Linked DNA regions of Homo sapiens: all the other regions are linked to region 3. The links are contacts of gene promoters, found by promoter capture Hi-C in blood cells and fetal thymus (Javierre and others, 2016). All regions are on one chromosome and are shown on one strand. Each heading gives the region's core, a stretch centred on a gene start or on the middle of the fragment in contact. The rest is flanking DNA. Distances are from core to core; before and after follow the strand shown.

Region 1 (2,700 bases), core at 187-2,686, 360 kb after region 3:
GGGATTACAGGTGTGAGCTACCACACCCAGCCAGAAGCTAGTATAATTGACTTGAGACCTTTCTTCTTTTCTTATACAAGCCTTAATACTATAAATTTCCCTCTAAACACTGTTTCGCAGCATCCCACAGATTTCTTTTAATTTTTAATTTTTTTTTTTTTTTTTTTTGAAACGGAGTCTCATTCTGTCACCCAGGCTGGAGTGCAGTGGTGTGATCTCAGCCTCTGCAGGTTCAAGAGATTCTCCTGCCTCCGCCTCCTGAGTAGCTAGGATTACAGGTGCCCGGCTAATTTTTGTATTTTCAGTAGAGACAAGGTTTCACATGTTGGTCAGGCTGGTCTCAAACTCCTGACCTCAAGCGATCCACCTGCCTCAGCCTCCCAAAGTGCTGGGATTACAGGTGTGACCCACTGCGTCTGGCTTTTTTTTTTTTTTTTTTGAGACAGTCTCTTTCTGTTGCCCAGGATGGAGTGCAATGGTGTGATCTTGGCTCACTGCAACTTCCGTCTCCTGGGCTCACGCGATTCTCCTGCCTCAGCCTCCCAAGTAGCTCGGATTATAGGTGTCTGCCACCATGCCCAGCTAATTGTTGCCAACATGCCCAGCTAATTTCTGTATTTTTAGTAGAGATGGGGTTTTACCATGTTGGTCAGGCTGGTCTTGAACTCCTGACCTCAAGTGATCCGCCTGCCTCAGTCTTCCAAAGTGCTGGGATTATAGGCGTGAGCCACCATGCCTGGCCTAATGTTGTATTTTCATTATCATTCAGTTAGAAACATTTTATAATTTTCCTTATGATTTATGCATTGACTCACAGATTTTAGTACTAAGTTGTTTAATTACCAGATATTTGGGGCTTTTCTAGATGTTTTGTTTTTATTCATTTCTAATTTAATTACCTTGTGATCAGAGAACACACTCTATGGGTTTTTAGTCTTGCTATCTGGTTTCTCCGTTTTATGAGAGTATCTGGGGAGATTAAAAAAATGATGCTGCTACCACCATCTTCCCAATATCCTTCTAAAAATATCTACTTTTAAGATTTTCTTATCTTTAAGAGTCTAAATACATCCAAAATAACCCAAATTACAAGAATTCAATTGATTCAATAATAAATTCAATCGTTTTTATTATGCTTTGAAATATGTTTCTTCAACTATGACCTAGAAAATAACGAACACTTACTGTTATTTGCAAGAGTGAGTCCAATAAATGAGCAAATAGGGCGAATTATCTCAGGTGTCGTGCAATTTTTTAGCCATTCATTAGCATGTGGAAAAAGGGAACAGCAAAACATTTGATTCTCATCTGAAAGAAGACAAAGTCAATCATGATTTAATATGACAATTGGAAAATATCAGTTTTCATTTGTTTTTATCTTTATTTTTATATTTAAACATGACAGATAATTACCATTTTGAGGATTGTTGACACAGACACACAGAGTACTACACACTGAAGACCACAACTGATAACTCTGGAAAACATTTTTATCTGACAAATCCAACTCATGTTTTGAAATAACTGTCCTATTAGGTTAAAAAGAAAAGAAAGTAAATTAATACAAATGTGTTAAGGTCCTAAGTAATGAATAATTAACAAAAAGAAATTTGTATTTGTTTACCTGAATAACCGTGACAGAACTGTAATACAACCTGTTTCTCTCACAAGTGTTTGTCCGGTCCCTTAAAAAAATAGCCATATAAAAATATGAGTTTTATTTACAAATAGTCTTGCAGAAATGAAGAACAGTTAAGTTTTATTTTAATAAATAACTTTTAAACAACTTTAAAGTATTACAAAGTATAACATAGAATTACGGTGGATAAAAATCTGCAATCAAGATTATTATGAAAAATATGTCACTACTGCTTAGAGACTAATTGTATTCAAATTTCCTCTAAAAATTACAAAACTCTTACTTTGCATCATGGTTCTGTGTTGCAGTATCAAGATAAGTTCCAAAATGGAAAAATAAATAAATTCAACCTTTTCTAGTTTTTCCAAAATAAAACAAAATCTAGAAACATTTTTTTTAAGTGCACGCCTGGCAAGAAGGCGCCTCCTCAGGCCTCTCTGGCAAGAGGCTTAGCTGAATTACCTGAGCCTGCTCAGACTACCATTGTGCCTGGGTCTGTGATCCTCCCCATGGAAACAATAATAGCAGAGGACTAGAGGGTGAGAGACCAGCCACTGCTAGCAGAAGAAGGTGAGGCTTGACTTCTCCCCTTCAAAGGATACAACCTGATGCCTCGCTTCCCTGAGGCTGCCCTACCCCCACCCAACACCCTGGGGGTTTGGGCCTTGAGCCCTACAACCACCCAGACTTCCCCCTCTATTGATGCCCACATTTCCCCTCTAGCAGGAAGGGTGGCATGAGAGAGTCTGCTGGTACTGAATATGGTCGTGCTGGGACCTGGGTGACATGGGGAAGGGGTTACACAGCCTTGGCCTCCCCAAGTGCTGGGGTTACAGATGTGACCTGCTGTGCCTACCTAGAAGCATTTCTTTTTTTTGAGGCAGAGTCTCGCTCTGTCACTCAGGCTGGAGTACAGTGGCTTGATCACAGCTCATTGCAGCCTCAACCTCCAGAGCTCACTCAATTCTCCCACCTCAGCCTCCCAAGTAGCTGGTAGTACAGGTGTGTGCCACCACACCCAGTTAATTTTTCTTTTTCTTTTTCTTTTTTTTTTTTTTTTA
Region 2 (2,700 bases), core at 2-2,501, 380 kb after region 3:
AGAGAAAACTAAAGCACAGAGAGATTAAGTTACTTAGCTCATAAGTGATGCTGTATGACTTCCAAAGCTAGGTCATAAAAAGCCCTGTACCTTCCACTTGGGTTTTTTGGAATGTTAACTGCAGAAGCCAACTGACATGCCAAAAGGAAGTCCAAGCTAGCCACGTGAAGAGATACCTGACCAGCCGCCAGCTATTCCCACTGTTCTGACTAAGGTGCTAGTTACATGAGTAAAAATGTCTTCTTGCATGTCTAACTCAGTCAGTCAAGCCTTCAGAATGACTCCACCCCCAGGCTCAAGCAACTGCATGCCTCCCCAAGGAGAACTGCCTGAGACCAGGCAACCCACAAAATCACGACACTATTTATTGTTTTAAACCACTAAGTTTTGAAGTGGTTTGTTATGCAACAGATAACTGAAATAAATACTAATCAAATAATACAAATAAAGCAATACATATTTGGTGTTTATTCTTTTTTTTTCTTCTAGTAAGCTTGCTTGTTAGGACTATAAACTCTGGGCAGCGCAGTGGCTCATGCGTGTAATCCCTGCACTTTGGGAGGCCAACACAGGAGGATCACTTGAGGTCAGGAGTTCGAGACCAGCCTGGCCAACACGGAGAAACCCTGTTTCTACTAAAAATACAAAAATTAGCTGGGCGAGGTGGCGGGCGCCTATAGTCCCAGCTACTCGGGAGGCTGAGGCAGGAAAACTGCTTAAACCCAGGAGGCGGAGGTTGCAGTGAGCTGAGATCACGCCACTGCACTCCAGCCTGGGCGACAGAGCGAGACTCCGTCTCAAAAGAAAAAAAAAAAAGACTATAAACTCTGGAGACACACTGTATCAGATGGAGCAGCAGGTTTTATGATACCCCTAGAATGTGTTGCTATGCAATAATCCTGCACAATTAAAATTATCATCCCAAAGAAAAATATTCTGAGCAACCTCAGATCTTTGAGATTATGCCAATTCTCCAATGACTACATTTGCTGAAGATAAAAAGTAGATAACTAAACAAAGAAATTCCTACATCTTCAGAGTTATTGAGTTCAGAAATTAGTAGCATACTTTTTTTTTTTTTTGAGACAGTCTCACCACAGTCACCCAGGCTGGAGTTTAGTGGCACAATCACAACTCACTGTAGCCCCAACTTCCCAGGCTCAGGTGATCCTCCCGAGTAGCTGAGTCTACAAGTGCACACCACCATGTCTGGCTAATTTTTTGTATCTTCAGTAGAGATGGGGTTCCACCATGTTGCCCACGCTGGTCTCCAACTCCTGGGCTCAAGCAATCTGCCTGAATCAGTCTCCCAAAGTGCTGGCATTACAGACGTGAGCCACCGTACTATGCCTGGCCAGCATATTTCTTGTGGCTTTCCTATTCCACTAAATTAAACTCAGTGTGAGTCTTAGTAACAAACTATGGAAAATGACAGAAAAAAGTTTTCTTCTATACATATTCAACCAACATCCCCCTGTAATAGTTTAGAATCGAACACTATTTTGCAAATAGTTAAACTTAAAAAACAAAAGGTGGTTCTTCACTGGGGAACGTTTGGGGTGTAATCTGTTTACAATGTGAAATTCAAGCAACACTATTATAAATACCCTGAGAACACTTTCAATTTAAATGTTTTATTGAAGATCTTATTATATCTGGTAATTCAATTGCTATTCTTACCTGGATATCTACCCTGTTGTTTATGAAATCTATCAACAGCCCGTAACATTAAGTACAACACTATTTCATTATCTGGATTGTCCATGCTAGAAACTGAAAGGAAAAAAAATTTCAGTTTAATTTGGTTAATTTGCAATGTAACAAACAATGAAGGGCTGAATTTACTATATACTTGAGTTTCAGGACTATTAACTGGAGTCACACAATCTCTACTGAAGTAGTAACATACTGACTTTAACTCATACATATCACACAATGGACTCAGTGACCTAAATATGACTTTATGCATACATTAAGTTTCATATAATATATAAATTATAATTACCTAGATAAGCTTAGAATAAAATTAGAATATGTTTACGTTATCTTTAATATCATCACCATATACTCAACACTATTATACACAAAATATTTATATCTTTTAAATTAATTAAAATTAACCCAGAATCAGAAGGCTATTATACTTACTAATTTCATCCTTGTTAATTGTATCCAAACCATATTCTTCAGCTAAGGATCGACATCTTACCACTCGAAGAAATGCAGAATTGCTGCCTGAACAGAGGAAAGATATTCTGGAAGTAATGACTGTGACTGGTGAATATTATGAATCACAGGTGACTTTAAGAACAGAGAATTATGTGTATACCCTTCTCAGACATGAGAATGTGAAGAAATGTTTTCTCCTTGGTTCTAATAGCAGAGAAAGCACTAGAACATGAATCACCTTAAATTTATATCCCTGGCACTACAACCAGTTCAGAAGCAAGTAAGGTGATGGCCTCTCTGAACCTCAGTTTTCAAGTGTAAAATGGGGATGATACTGTTTACCTTTGAGAATTGTTCTACAGATTAAATGTGACATCTGTATAAAGTGCATCTCTAGCACAATGCCTGATATGGCTCTAAAAATAATAGTTTTCATCATTATTATGGATAAGTAGTCCTAAAGGAGAGAGGTTTATGAATTGTACTCTTGATATATGTAATGACTTTAAGCTTTGTATTATTGAAATTTTC
Region 3 (2,700 bases), core at 1-2,500:
TTTTGAAACGAACCCAGCTTTTGACTCCCCTTGCCTCCTAAGCCCCAGTTTCCTCATCAACAGTAGTGGTTCAGAGAGTGTTAGCAACAACACATTTCATCAATTCCTGCAGCAAATTCACTGAGTGCCCACTCTGTGCAGACCCCTGCAGCCCTACCCAGACGCTGCCCTCCTGGCGCTCCCAGGCAAGTGGCGGAGGTTAAATAAATAACTCCTCCACGCTGGCGAGCACCCCAACACAGTAGGGGTGCAATCATTGGGAGCAATATCCTAATGAGGACAGGGAGGCCTGAGAGATGGGCTGGGATTCGTCCAAGGCCCCAAAGCAGGGTGGGGACAGAGCAGGTCCTGGAAGCCTGGAACCCCGGCCTGAGCCAGGCATCCCCTCGGGGCCGGCTTCCACCTGCCAGGGCTGAGCCCTATGCCCTGACGTTTGGGCAGCGGGGAACGGGGGCACAGGGAGGGTGACGGGGTGAAGGAAACAGGCCTGCTGGTGGCTCCGAAGGAAGGTTTGGGCCAGGCCTAGCTGGAATCCCAAAACTCACCTGCCAGCAACCGCGAGCGGGAAGCCCTGCCAGGCTCGCCTGCCCCTGCCAGCGGCCCAGCCACGCTGGGTCCCCCTCTCCATCCCGCACTTTGCTCTTTGCCCGCGACAGGGGTCCCCTGCTCAAATGCCCAGCCTAGCCTCGGTCCAACCTGTCTGGCTGTCCTTCCCTGACACCTCGTTTGTCTACCCTTCTCTGCACGTGTCAGTGGCTCCCCGCTCGCGTCCGTGTGTCATTCCCTACACACGCCTGTGTGTCCTCTTCACACGTCTGACTGGAGCGTCGGCCTCCCGCATTTCCCGGCCTCCTCGCCGCCCTGCCCCGCCTGCTGCTGTGTGGGTGTCGGGCTGGCTGTGCGCAAAGGGGCGCGGCTCGGCCCTCCCCCGCACCCGCGCCCCCCGCCCCGCATCTCGGAGTGACCCGGGCCGCGGCGCCGCGGTGCTGAGGCCCGGGAGCCGCGCCGCCGCCGAGGGGGGCCGGGGCCGGTGACGGTGGCGTGGGCGGCGGCGCGGGGACGACGGGCGGCCGGGCGGGGCTGCGGCAGGGCAGGGCCAGGGCCAGGGCCGGGGCCTGGGAAGCCGCCGCCGCCGCTGCCTCGGCCCGGGATCGCGGGCGGCTGGTCGGCCCGGCTCGCCTGGCCCCGCCTGGCCCGCCCCGCCCCGCCCCTGCGCGCCCAGCAGGCCGAAGCGTAGCGGCGCGCCCCCCGCGACGCCCGAGCCCGAGCGCAGTGGCCTCCGAGCGGGAACCGGACTGGGAGCCGGAGCCGGGGCGGGAACCGGAGCTGGAGCCGAAGCTGGAGCCGGCACTGCGGCGCACGGAGCGGAGCGCTGCAGCCAAGCCGAGTAAGGGGCGTGGGGCTGGGCGGCGCGGGGGAGGGGCGGGCGGGGGGTCCCGGCCCCATTCCCCCGCGCTCTGCGGTGGTACCGGCGAACGACACACCCGGGGGCGCGCCGCGCGGAGCCTCGGTGCGCGGGGCGGGCGGATGCGCGGTCCGGAACGGAACCGCAGCGCGCTCGGAACGGAGCGGGATCCCGGGTCTCCCGCGGACCCTCGACCCCGGGCTGGCCACTGGGATCTGCGCGAGCCGAGGCTGACCCTGATCGCGCCCTCGGGCCTCGGGGAAGGGGAGGTATCCAGGTTTTCTGCCTGACTCGAGTCCCCGACGAGCATCAACCGCATTTGGGGAACCCAAGACAGCCTCCCCAGCAGCTTGCCCTCGGTTTCGGGGACCCCTGAACAACCCAACCAAGAAGGGAAAACTAGGGCGCACTCTCGGTCGGGGTGGGAGAGGAAAGGGGCTGGGGCTTCACGGAGTTTGGAGTTTGAACCCACCCGCACCCCTTTGAGCTAGGAAGTTTGACCCTTCGACGAGCAGGTCGCCTGGGGTATGCCCCTGTCTCCGTGCCTCTGTCTCAGCACCGAGCGTCGGAGAGAGAGCGCGCCCTCCGCACCTTCTCCCACTTTGGGACAGACTTTCCCTTGCGCTGTCAGAGGGACCCGAGGCTGAGTACGAGGCGAGGCGGCAGGCAGCTCAGGCTGGCTGCGCAGCGCTGAGTGGCACCGCCGCCGCTCCCCAGGGGCAGGGCCCACCCCACACCCGGCTGACTCTCGCTGCCCTTCCTCCTTCCCTATCGGGCTCTGCGGTCTGGAGGCTGGAGAGCGGTGAGGACCAGGGACTGCCCTGTCCATCTCGGGCGGGTGCCGGCGTGGGTGGCGGGGCGCAGGCTGGGAAAGGGAGGGCGCAAGTAACTGGTGTGAGAGGCAGGGGTTCAGGGATCCTTGCTCTTGAGCCACGATTTCCGATGAGCCCCTGCCGAGAGCATGCCGCTCTGGACTCACTCCTCAAACATAACTGCTCTGCTGGAACGAGAGACTTCACCACCCTGTGCCTCAGTTTCCTCATCTGAAAGTAAGCAGGAGTCTGTTGTGAGCGGGATGTTTAAGGGATTTGGAACCAGAAGGTGGGCTTGGCTGACTTCCTGGCTGTACAACCTTAAGCAAGACACAAACCTCTCTGAGCCTTAGTTTCCCCATCTGGAACATGGGGAAGGTGAGTTGGGAGGATTAAATGAGATGATGCTGGTGAGGGTATGTAGCCTGGTGCCTGGCACGCAGCCAGTGGCCAATTGTGGTGGGCTACAGGTGTCCTGAGGTG
Region 4 (2,700 bases), core at 152-2,651, 340 kb after region 3:
TATTTCTCCAAAGGGAACAAAGTAAATCATACATGTAGAACTATTATAAATTCTAGTTAATTACAATAAGCGTGGTGGCTCATGTCTGTAACACCAGCACTTTGAGAGGCTGAGGCAGGCAGATCATTTGAGGTCAGGAGTTCAAGATCAGTTTGGCCAACATGGTAAAACCTGCTCTACGAAAAAATACAAAAAAAAAAAAAAAATTAGCCAGGTGTGGTAGTGGGCACCTGTAATCCCAGCTACTTGGGAGGCTGAGGCACAAGAATTACTTGAACCTGGGAGGTGGAGAGTGCAGTGAGCCAAGATCGCGCCACTGCACTCCAGCCTGGGTGACAGAGTAAGACTCTGTATCAAAAAAAAAAAAAAATTCTAGTTAATATCATAAAAGGCTTTGACTGTGAAACAACTGCAATTAAAAAAATACTTACCTGAGCACCTATACGTCAACATTTCGGAACAACTGGGAGTTGCTAGAAAACTGACTACTTCTTTATTTATTATATCTGAACATAATGTAAATGGATCTGAAAAAAATTGCAAAATGAAGGATTTTTGGATTAATGAAAAGAATCAGATATTTTCAGGATTTATTAAATATCAAGCTTTTCATAAACCTTAGCCTAGTACTATGCCTCCAGTCATGCTGGTGAATAAACAGAAAGATTCTGGATCTTAATGGAAGGCATTTACAACAGAAAGAGTCAAAGGTGTGGCTTATGCTTTAGAGGGCCAATATAGCAATGGACTTTTTTTTTTTTTGAGATGGAGTCTCACTCTGTCGTCCAGGCTGGAGTGCAGTGGCATGATCTCGGCTCACTGCAACCTCCGCCTCCTGGGTTGAAGCAGTTCTCCTGCGTCAGCCTCCAGAGTAGCTGGGATTACAGGTGCCCACCACCGCACCTGGCTAATTTTTGTATTTTTAGTAGAGACAGGGTTTCACCATGTTGGCCAGACTGGTCTTGAACTCCTGACCTCAGCTGATCTGCCCACCTAGGCCTCCCAAAGTGCTGGGATTACAGGCGTGAGCCACCGCACCCAGTCAATGTGCATTTTTAGCTATATTGGTTACCTAAATATCTGTTTTATTAAAAAACCAAAGAAACATTTTTAATCATACCTGTTACTGGTAACTGCTGCTTTATATTTTTGGCAATGTGAACTGGGTGTTTAAAAACATGGTCACTAAAAGAAAATAGACACCAGATTACTAAAAGTAAACATACTGTTTGGTGTGCGGACCAATGTTTCTGTAAGCAGTGTTGTGATTTTCGGTGTTTGGTGGGCAAAAGCAACCTGGAATCACGATCTACCACAATCTACCAAATTCTGCCAACGTAGGGCCTGCAACAATTACAGCCGTGTTTCTAGAGCTCGAGTCAAACAAGACTCCAGAGGGCAATAGTATTGATGCCAGAAGAAACATGGAAGAAAAAGATTATAAAAAGAAGGAAGTAGGAGAGATGAAGGCAAAAAGGAGAGAACAAAATCAGTGGGAGCAAAAATGAACATGGGTGCAGGATGGCAAAGTGCTAACAACAATCATTTAAAGACCTGAATTTAAAAATCCTTCCTAACCCCCAAAACATTTGTATGTTTGAACCCTGTAGTCCTTGATGAATAAATACAAGTTTTGATTATACTGTCACAATGATTAACAGGCAGTACAGAAAAAGGCAAGAACTGTAGATCAGATAGCAGGCATAGCAGTAGCTTTATAGTTATAGCTATCTGTCCATGTACGTATATTTGTAGGAGCTACTACATAGGAGAAAAAAAGCATTTCAAAGAGATGAAAATATTAATAAGTTGGCTGAGGTAGAAATATGGCTAACCCTAGCCGGGTGCGGTGGTTCACGCCTGTAATCCCAGCATTTTAGGAGGCTGAGGCGGGCAGATCACCTGAGGTCGCGAGTTCAAGGCCAGCCTGACCAACATGGAGAAACTCCATCTCTACTAAAAATACAAAAAATTAGCCGGGCGTGGTGGCACATGCGTGTAATCCCAGCTACTCGGGAGGCTGAGGTAGGAGAATCACTTGAACCCGGGAAGTGGAGGTTGCGGTGAGCCGAGATCATGCCATTGCACTCCAGCCTGGGCAACAAGAGCGAAACTTTCTCAAAAAAAAAAAGAAAAAGAAAAAGAAAAAAGAAAAAGAAATATGGCTAACTCTATAGGAGAAAGAAGGGTATGGGTGGAAAGCTTGGGATGGAGGTCAAGAAGGCTGGCCCAGGACCATATCTTACTGCTTCCCAATTCCCATACCTGAGCAATCAAGTTAAAATTAACATCAAGAATGGTCTTGAAACAGATAAAAGGGGTGGTATTGGTGTAACCCTTCTTCCTGGTACTTAGTTTACCCTTCAACCTGCCCGAAATGTAGCAGCATCCTCTTCATTTTTCCCAAGTACAGTAACCAACAGAAGAGCACAACCCAATAAAGGGTTTAAGAAAAGCTACAATCCCAGGTCTAGCCCCACAAACTAACTGCAAGGGAAAAAGACTATGTTCTAGAGACAAAGTGCAGGGAACAAACAAAAGGGCAAACCCAAACCAAATTTTCTTCACATCCTATTCCCTTTATCACATTAAATTTAAAAACAGTTTTTGCTATACTGCTGATTATCAATGCACGCATTGTTACTTCAAGTAAAGGGTTTCCGTTTAGGTTTTATTTTCTGAGTATCCTTTCTAAAATTC
Region 5 (2,700 bases), core at 122-2,621, 460 kb after region 3:
CAGCCATAGTTGCTTGAGTCATGGAGTTTATAGACTAGTGGGGAAATATACATGTATATAAAATTTAGTTTTTGAGACAGGGTCTTGCTCTGTTGCCCAGGCTGGAGTGCAGTGGCAGGAGCACAGCTCATTGCAGTCTTGACCTCCAGGGCTTAAGCAATCCTCTCACCTCAGCCTTACAAGTGAATGGGGCTATAGGTGTGCGCCACCATGCCCAACTAATTTGTAAAAAAATTTTTTGTAGAAACCAGGTCTCCTTATGTTGCCCAGGCTGGTCTTGGAACTCCTAGGCTCAAGTGATCCTCCCGCCTCAGCCTTTGGAGTGGTTACAGGTATGAGCCACTATGCCCGAAGCAGATTATTTATTTATTTATTTATTTTTGAGACGGAGTTTCGCTCTCGCCCAGGCTGGAGTGCAGTGGTGCAATCTTGGCTCACTGCAAACTCTGCCTCCTGGGTTCACGCCATTCTCCTGCCTCAGCCTCCTGAGTAGCTGGGACTACAGGCGCCCATCACTGCACCCAGCTAAATTTTTGTATTTTTAGTAGAGACGGGGTTTCACTGTGTTAGCCAGGATGGTCTCGATCTCCTGAACTCGTGATCAGCCCACCTCGGCCTCCCAAAGTGCTGGGATTACAGGCGTGAGCCACCGCGTCAGGCCTGTTTTTGTTTTCTTTGAGACAGGGTCTCACTCCCTCTCTAGTGAGGCCCAGGCTAGACTGCAGTGGCACAATCACTGCTTTCTGCAGCCTCAACTTACCAGGCTCAGATGATTCTCCTACCTCAGCCTCCCAAGTAGCTGTGACTATAGATACACACCACCATGCCTGGCAATTTTTTTATTTTTTTTATTTTTTTGGAGAGACAGGGTTTCACCATGTTGCCCAGGCTAGTCTCGAACTCCTGGGCTCAAGCTATCCACCCACCTTGGCCTCCCAAAGTGCTAGGATTACAGGCATGAGCCACCAGGCCTGGCCCCCGAAGCAGATATTTAAATGAACACTTATAGTCTGCTGGTGAGAGTGAGTTTAGTGTATTTTAAATAGTTTATTCTAAGTCATTTTTGTTCAGGATATTAGCAAATGTTTTCAGAAGTCAGTATTTTTAAGAAATTAAATTTGTGGCTGGGTGCTTTGGCTCACGCCTGTAATCCCAGCACTTTGGGAGGCCGAGGCAGGTGGATCACAAGGTCAGGAGATCGAGACCATCCTGGCTAACATGGTGAAACCCTGTCTCTACTAAACATACAAAAAATTGGCCAGGTGTGGTGGCGGGCGCCTGTAGTCCCAGCTACTCCAGAGTCTGAGGTAGGAGAATGGCATGAACCTGGGAGGCGGAGCTTGCAGTGAGCAGAGATCACACCACTGCACTCCAGCCTGGGCGGCAGAGCGAGACTACGTCTCAAAAAAAAAAAAAAAAAAAAGAAATTAAATTTGAAACTTCAACTTTTTAATTTTTAGGTTTAAAAATATCCTTTTTTGCTGAAGGAACACATTTGCTGGTATAGTTTCAGAATGTCAAGTACTGTGTCCTACTGGATCTTAAATTCTACAAGGAACAGCATTGCCACATTGCAAGGGGGTAGACGCTTATACTCCAGGTATGTCTCAAATAGGAATAAATTAAAATGGAGGCTCTTTTCCCGGGTGCCACCCACCCTAAACAGTTCCCCATGTGGTGGCTTTACTCTGTGCAAAGCCTACAGACACACATCAACAGAGGAAGATGATTTTCACTTGCAACTCAGCCCTGAGCAGATAAATGAAGTGCTTCGAGCTGGCGAGACAACCCACAAGATTCTTGACCTTGAAAGCAGAGTCCCAAATTCAGTGTTGCGGTTTGAGAGCAACCAGCTGGCTGCCAATTCCCCAGTGGAGGACCGGCGAGGTGTAGCCTCCTGCCTGCAAACCAATGGACTGATGTTTGGCATCTTCGATGGACATGGTGGTCATGCATGTGCCCAAGCAGTGAGCGAGAGGCTCTTCTACTATGTGGCAGTGTCCCTGATGTCCCACCAGACCCTGGAGCACATGGAGGGAGCTATGGAAAGCATGAAACCCTTGCTGCCCATCCTGCATTGGCTCAAGCACCCAGGGGACAGTATCTACAAGGATGTCACATCTGTGCATCTTGACCACCTCCGTGTCTATTGGCAGGAACTGCTTGATTTGCACATGGAAATGGGACTAAGCATTGAAGAAGCATTAATGTACTCCTTCCAGAGACTGGATTCTGACATCTCGCTGGAAATCCAGGCCCCCCTGGAAGATGAGGTGACAAGGAACCTGTCACTCCAGGTTGCTTTCTCTGGGGCAACAGCTTGCATGGCCCATGTTGATGGAATTCACTTGCACGTGGCAAATGCTGGTGACTGCCGAGCCATCCTTGGTGTCCAAGAGGACAATGGCATGTGGTCTTGTCTGCCCCTTACACGTGACCACAATGCCTGGAACCAGGCCGAGCTGTCCCGGCTAAAGAGGGAGCACCCTGAGTCAGAGGACAGGACGATCATCATGGAGGACAGGCTACTGGGCGTCCTCATCCCCTGCAGGGCCTTTGGGGATGTTCAGCTGAAGTGGAGTAAAGAGTTGCAGCGCAGCATTCTGGAGAGGGGCTTCAATACCGAGGCCCTCAACATTTACCAGTTCACACCCCCACACTACTACACTCCACCCTACCTGACTGCTGAGCCTGAGGTCA
Region 6 (2,700 bases), core at 131-2,630, 430 kb after region 3:
TCTTGGTTGGGAGTTAGCTTGATTGTTAATCACCAGAACCTAGACACTGGCTGGGAGCGGGGATACCTGGATCCTGGGACCCCCACCCCCGCTACTGTGTTGGAATCTGAATGCTACATTTGCTGATAAGTCTTAGCTAGATGGGCTTGGAACTAGAACTAGGTAAAGCAGAGCCCAGACCCTTTAGTGAGTAAATAAATGAGGGTCCTGCAGAGAAAAATGAGTGGGGAAGAGTAGGGACAGACCCTAAGGGAAGGAGGAGGGAGGGGTAGAGCTGGCTGGGCAGGTATGCCAGATGATGCATCTGGGGTCATAGAGGACCACAGCACCCCCAATCTGCCCTGAGCATTCCTTCTGCTTCCTCAAGATGGGGAAGTTCCGGAGCCTGCTTTTTACCTCGGAGGACGATGAGAGGATCCACATGGTGAACAACTTCCGGCCACCACAGCCACTGAAGGGCCGCGTGGTAAAGGCCTCCTTCCGGGCCTGAGCTGCCCATCTGCCTAGCCGGCCACTAGGGCACCATCTTCTCAAGGGCTTCCATGTCAGCAGACACCAAACCATCTGAGGCTTCCTCCCTGGGGGGTGCTGGGGACCCTCCTTCAGCCAGTTTGCTCCTTGGTCACCCTGGAGGCTTCTGGATGGGACCCTTGAGTCTGGGGCACCCTTCAGCTGCCCTGGGGACAGGAAGGACAGGAGCTAAGCAGGGTCCAAGCCTGGGGCTGCCTCTGCTCTCCAAGACCCAAAGACCCTGGGAACCTCCTCTGGTCTTCCCCACTGGCAGTGGCAGCAGCCCCACCCCGAGCGCACACTGTGATGGAGGAGACTGAGCTCCCTGGGGCGGGCAGCTGACACTACCAGAGAGACTCAAGCAATAATTAGAGGTGGGCAGAGCTGCCCTCTCGGCATTACCTCTTCTGCAGGCTCTGCCATGCACGCACCTCACTGCCAGGCCATTAAAATCAGCACCCAGCATGCTGGAGGTGACGTGGCCTTCTCCCTCCAGCCACCTGCTGCCACGGGCAGGCCCTGGCTATAGCTTATACAGTATCTCCCCTTGTCCCCACCCAGTCACCAAAGCCACCTACATGACAGTCCATCCCTGTTGAATTAATAAATTAATGTATCCATGCAACAAATACCAATTGAGTGCTTGTGCTGTCTCTAGTACCGTCCTAGGCTTTGGGGAGCAATGGTGGTGAGTTAAGCACTATGTGTTGGGAGGGATATGAGTGGTGAGCAGGTGAGGGTTACACAAAGGGCAGGGAAGGGGCTATGGGAGCAGATGAGAGGGGAAGACCATGTCACTCAGCAAAGAAATGCAATTCTGGTCAGGCGTGGTGGCTCACGCTTACAGTCCCAGCACTTTGGGAGGCCAAAGCAGGTGGATCACTTGAGCTCAGGAGTTCGAGAGCAGCCTGGCCAACTGCTGAAACCCCGTCTCTACTAAAATTACAAAAATTAGCTGGGTGATAGTGGTGTGCACCTGTAATCCCAGCTGCTCAGGAGCCTGAGGCAGGAGAATCGCTTGAACCCAGGAGGCAGAGGTTGCAGTGAGCTGAGGTCGCACCACTGTACCCCAGGCTGGGCGACAGAGCGAGGCCCTCTCAAACAGAAAGAAAGGAAGAAATGAAATTCCAACCAGTATTCCAAATCAGATAGAAGGGAACAGCATGTTTGAGGCCAAGGGAAGGGCAAGTGTGCAGGCTCAGAGGTGAGAGAGAGCCCAGTGTGGTTGTGGGGCTCAAAAGGCTCAAAGGGGCTAGAGCCCTGGGGGAAACCTGGGACCCCCTCCCCAGGCTGACGGGGAGCTACCAAGGGCTTATAGTAGAGGAGGGGCAGGGCCAGGCCTGCAAATGGGGAACATCCCTGAGGAATGCGGATGGGCAGGCAGGAATGGTGGCAGGGAGCAAGGGGTGGCCTGTGTCCAGGCGGGAGGGGACAGGGTGGAGGGAGGTGGGAGACAGAGGGCTGGATGAGAGAGATTTAGGAGGTGGTGCCCAAAAGACAGTGTTTGGCTGTTCAGGATAGAGAGGAGACCAGGGCATATCCCTGAGCAGAAAGTGGAGCCTTCACTTGCTCTGGGAACCCTACAGGGAGCTGGCCACATTGGACACGCAGCATTGTGGGGTCCTGGAAGGAAAATCTAAGGGGGCATGTGCCTTCAGGCCCAGGCCCTGCACACGCACAACCCCAAGAGGGGGTTTTATTTTTATTTTTATTTAATTTTACTTATTTATTTATTTATTTATTTATTTATTTATTTATTTATTTATTTTTGAGACGGAGTCTTGCTCTGTAGCCCAGGCTGAAGTGAGTGGCATGATCTCAGCTCACTGCAACCTCCGCCTCCCAGGTTCAAGCAATTCTCCTGCCTCAGCCTCCCGAGTAGCTGGGATTACAGGTGCGCACCACCATGCCCGGCCAATTTTTGTATTTTTAGTAGAGATGGGGTTTCACCATGTTGGTCAAGCTGGTCTCGAATTCCTGACCCCAAGTAATCCACCCACCTGGGCCTCCTAAAGTGCTGGGATTACAGGTGTGAGCCACCGTGCCTGGCCCTAGAGTGCTTTTTTTTAAATGTGCATCCTCACCCTAGTCCCTAGTCCAAGTCCAAAAAAGTGCCCAAGGGCAAGTTCACAGTTGGGCTTAGAGACCAAGTGATGATTGTGACCCAGATGAGACAGCGGCAGGAGCCGG
Region 7 (2,700 bases), core at 147-2,646, 410 kb after region 3:
ATCATGAGGTCAGGAGATCGAGACCACGGTGAAACCCCGTCTCTACTAAAAATACAAAAAATTAGCTGGGCGCAGTGGTGGTCGCCTCTAGTCCCAGCTACTCGGGAGGCTGAGGCAGGAGAATGGCGTGAACCAGGAAGGTGGAGCTTGCAGTGAGCCGAGATCCCGCCACTGCACTCCAGCCTGGGCGACAGAGTGAGACTCCGTCTCAAAAAAAAAAAAAAAAAAAAAAAGAAAGGCAAATTCTTGGCTGGGTACAGTGGTTCATGACTGTAATTCCAGCACTTTGGGAGGCCAAGGCAGGAGGATTCCTTGAGGCCAGGAGTTTGAGACTAGCCTGAGCAACATAGCAAGACCCTGTCTCTACAAAAAGAAAAAAAAAAATTAAAAATTAGCCAGGCATGGTGGTGTATGCCTGTAGTACTAGCTACCTGGAAGGCTAAGGTGGGAGGATCACTTGAGCCCAGGAGTTTGTGGTTGCAGTGAGCTATGATCTCGCCACTGCACTCCAACCTGGGCAACAGAGTGAGACATTCCTCTCTTAAAAAAAATTAAGTATTAAAAAAAAAAAAAGAAAGCCAGGTAAGGTGGTTCACTCCGGTAATCCCAACACTTAGGAGGCTAAGGCAGGAGGATTGCTTGAGCCCAGGAGCTCGAAACCAGGCTGGGTGACATGGCGAAACCTTGTCTCTGAAAAAAAAAGAAACACAAATTCTTGGACCTTATCCATACTTGCTGAATCAGAAACTGTAGAGTGAGGCCCAGGAAACTGTTTTAACAAATCATCCAGGTGATTCTGATACATGCTTGATCCTACCCTGGCTTTCTGAGCACTTACTATGATGCCAGGCAGGCCCCTGACATGCATCACCTCGTGAGCTCACAACCACCCAATGCAACAGATATTGCTGCTAACCCCGTTTTACAGACAGAGGGCAGATGTTTGGGGAGAAGAGTGAAGTAACAAAGATTAAGAGGTGGTGCAGGGGTTAGAAACAAATACCCCAGTCTGGTGCGGTGGCTCACACCTGTAATCACACCTGTAGTCCCACACCTGCAGTATTTTGGGAGGCCAAGGCAGGAGGATCACTTGAGGCCAGGAGTTAGAGACCAGCCTGGGCAACATAACAAGACCCCGTCTCTACAAAAACTAAAGAATGTGGCCGGGTGCTGTGGCTCACACCTATAATCCAAGCACTTTGGGAGGCCGAGGTGAGCAGATCATGAGGTCAGGAGTTCAAGACCAGCCTGGCCAATATGGTGAAACCTTGTCTCTATTAAAAATATAAAAATTTGCCTGGCGTGGTCGTGGGCGCCTATAATCCCAGCTACTCAGGAGGCTGAGGCAGGAGAAACGCTTGAAACCGGAAGGCAGAGGTTGCAGTGAGCCGAGATTGCGCCACTGCACTCCAGCATGGGTGAAAGAGCGAAACTCCATCTCAAACAAACAAACAAACAAAATTAGCCAGGCATAGTGGCATACCTGTAGTCCCAGCTACTTGGTGGGAGGATCACTTGAGCCCAGGAGTTGGAGGCTGCAGTGAGCTATGACTGCACCACTGTACTCTAGTCTGGGTGACAGAGTGAGACCTTGTCTCAAACAAAAAGAAATAAATACCCCCAACAGATCTGACCAGACCCCAGTGCAGATCTGTTATTTTATCCAGTCCAGTTGATCTCAACGAGGGCAGACTGGACCTTTGGGCTGTCAGGAAGTTTGGGGCTAGCTCTGTGCTTACAGAGATTATAGTCTGTGGGAGACCAGCCAGGAAGAAGTCATAACCCAGGACATCCTCCCAGGCCACTAGCCCTCTCTGCCTGTCCTTGCACATCCTATCCCTTCTCACCCTGGTCCTCATTGGCTGATCTCTTGCCTCTCTCCCCAACCCCATAAGCTCCTTGAGGCAGCTATAAGTCTATAATGTTCACAGTTGTATCACCTGTGCCTGGCCCAGCAGTTGACATCTAATAAATCTTCAATAAATGTTTATTGAATTAAAGAATAAATTTCTGAAACTATTGCCATCATACTTTGTACATTTTAAAATATGTTCCTAGCAATGTATATATCATTTGATTTGGTAATTCTACCTCTATCAATTTATTCCAAGGAAATCATCAGACACATATAAGATGTATAAGTAAGGAGGCCAGGTACATTGGTTCATGCCTGTAATCCCAGTCCTTTGGGAGACTGAGGTGGAAGTATTGCTCGAGGCCAGGAATTTGAGACAGACCAGCCTGAGCAACACAGTGAGACCCCACTGTGTGTTTTTTTTTTTTTTTTTGAGACGGAGTTTCGCTCTGTTGCCCAGGTTGGAGTGCAGTTGCACGATCTTGGCTCACTGCGACCTCCACCTCCCGGTTCATGCCATTCTCCTGCCTCAGCCTCCTGAGTAGCTGGGACTACAGGTACCCGCCACCACGCCTGGCTAATTTTTTTTGTATTTTTAGTAGAGACGGGGTTTCACCGTGTTAGCCAGGATGGTCTCAATCTCCTGACCTTGAGATCCACCCGCCACAGCCTCCCAAAGTGCTGGGATTACAGGCGTGAGCCACCGCGCCCGGCCGACCCCATCTCTTAAAAAAAAAATCATACTGGGTCTCAAAAAAAAATACTAAAGATGTGCAAGTAAGGATGTTCACTGCAGTGATATTTGCCACACTGAAAACTAGAAATAACAAAATCACAGCAGTGTG

Evidence for each region. Contacts are between HindIII fragments. The CHiCAGO score rates a contact against its expected background, and 5 or more counts as called.
Region 1: a contact is called between a fragment that was not itself captured here and the fragment with the promoter of BEAN1 in region 3, in 2 of 17 cell types (total CD4 T cells and naive B cells). The highest score is 6.3, in total CD4 T cells.
Region 2: a contact is called between a fragment that was not itself captured here and the fragment with the promoter of BEAN1 in region 3, in 4 of 17 cell types (total B cells, non-activated CD4 T cells, naive B cells and 1 more). The highest score is 7.5, in total B cells.
Region 4: a contact is called between a fragment that was not itself captured here and the fragment with the promoter of BEAN1 in region 3, in 10 of 17 cell types (total CD8 T cells, total B cells, neutrophils and 7 more). The highest score is 7.9, in total CD8 T cells.
Region 5: a fragment that was not itself captured here is called in contact with the fragment with the promoter of BEAN1 in region 3 in 3 of 17 cell types (total B cells, total CD8 T cells and non-activated CD4 T cells); the score reaches 8.1 in total B cells.
Region 6: a contact is called between a fragment that was not itself captured here and the fragment with the promoter of BEAN1 in region 3, in 13 of 17 cell types (total B cells, naive B cells, activated CD4 T cells and 10 more). The highest score is 16.3, in total B cells.
Region 7: a contact is called between a fragment that was not itself captured here and the fragment with the promoter of BEAN1 in region 3, in 4 of 17 cell types (total B cells, M0 macrophages, naive CD8 T cells and 1 more). The highest score is 7.3, in total B cells.

The regions. Positions count from the first base shown.
Region 1 is chr16:66,784,601-66,787,300 of GRCh38, forward strand. It overlaps TERB1 (telomere repeat binding bouquet formation protein 1), which reads right to left. Exons shown (of 19, transcript NM_001136505.2): 7 at 1,625-1,685; 8 at 1,414-1,529; 9 at 1,186-1,308. Among named protein-coding and RNA genes, the nearest start is that of TERB1, 16 kb to the right of the region's middle. The HindIII fragment of the contact is 9,811 bases long and covers 1-2,700 here.
Region 2 is chr16:66,806,841-66,809,540 of GRCh38, forward strand. It overlaps NAE1 (NEDD8 activating enzyme E1 subunit 1), which reads right to left. Exons shown (of 20, transcript NM_003905.4): 16 at 2,149-2,235; 17 at 1,681-1,773. Among named protein-coding and RNA genes, the nearest start is that of TERB1, 6.6 kb to the left of the region's middle. The HindIII fragment of the contact is 1,521 bases long and covers 492-2,012 here.
Region 3 is chr16:66,426,045-66,428,744 of GRCh38, forward strand. It overlaps BEAN1 (brain expressed associated with NEDD4 1), which reads left to right and starts at 1,251. Exons shown (of 5, transcript NM_001178020.3): 1 at 1,251-1,387. RefSeq lists an enhancer at 2,079-2,679. The HindIII fragment of the contact is 13,321 bases long and covers 1-2,700 here.
Region 4 is chr16:66,766,984-66,769,683 of GRCh38, forward strand. It overlaps TERB1 (telomere repeat binding bouquet formation protein 1), which reads right to left. Exons shown (of 19, transcript NM_001136505.2): 15 at 1,121-1,185; 16 at 432-527. Among named protein-coding and RNA genes, the nearest start is that of DYNC1LI2-DT, 17 kb to the left of the region's middle. The HindIII fragment of the contact is 1,597 bases long and covers 604-2,200 here.
Region 5 is chr16:66,882,771-66,885,470 of GRCh38, forward strand. PDP2 (pyruvate dehydrogenase phosphatase catalytic subunit 2) reads left to right here. Exons shown (of 2, transcript NM_020786.4): 2 at 1,461-2,700. The coding sequence starts at 1,515. Among named protein-coding and RNA genes, the nearest start is that of PDP2, 3.6 kb to the left of the region's middle. The HindIII fragment of the contact is 5,190 bases long and covers 1-2,700 here.
Region 6 is chr16:66,853,009-66,855,708 of GRCh38, forward strand. It overlaps CA7 (carbonic anhydrase 7), which reads left to right. Exons shown (of 7, transcript NM_005182.3): 7 at 368-1,139. The coding sequence ends at 490. It overlaps LOC124903699 (a long non-coding RNA gene), which reads right to left. Exons shown (of 4, transcript XR_007065088.1): 3 at 397-677. Among named protein-coding and RNA genes, the nearest start is that of CA7, 9.9 kb to the left of the region's middle. The HindIII fragment of the contact is 6,670 bases long and covers 1-2,700 here.
Region 7 is chr16:66,834,180-66,836,879 of GRCh38, forward strand. No RefSeq gene overlaps it. Among named protein-coding and RNA genes, the nearest start is that of NAE1, 4.6 kb to the left of the region's middle. The HindIII fragment of the contact is 3,991 bases long and covers 1-2,700 here.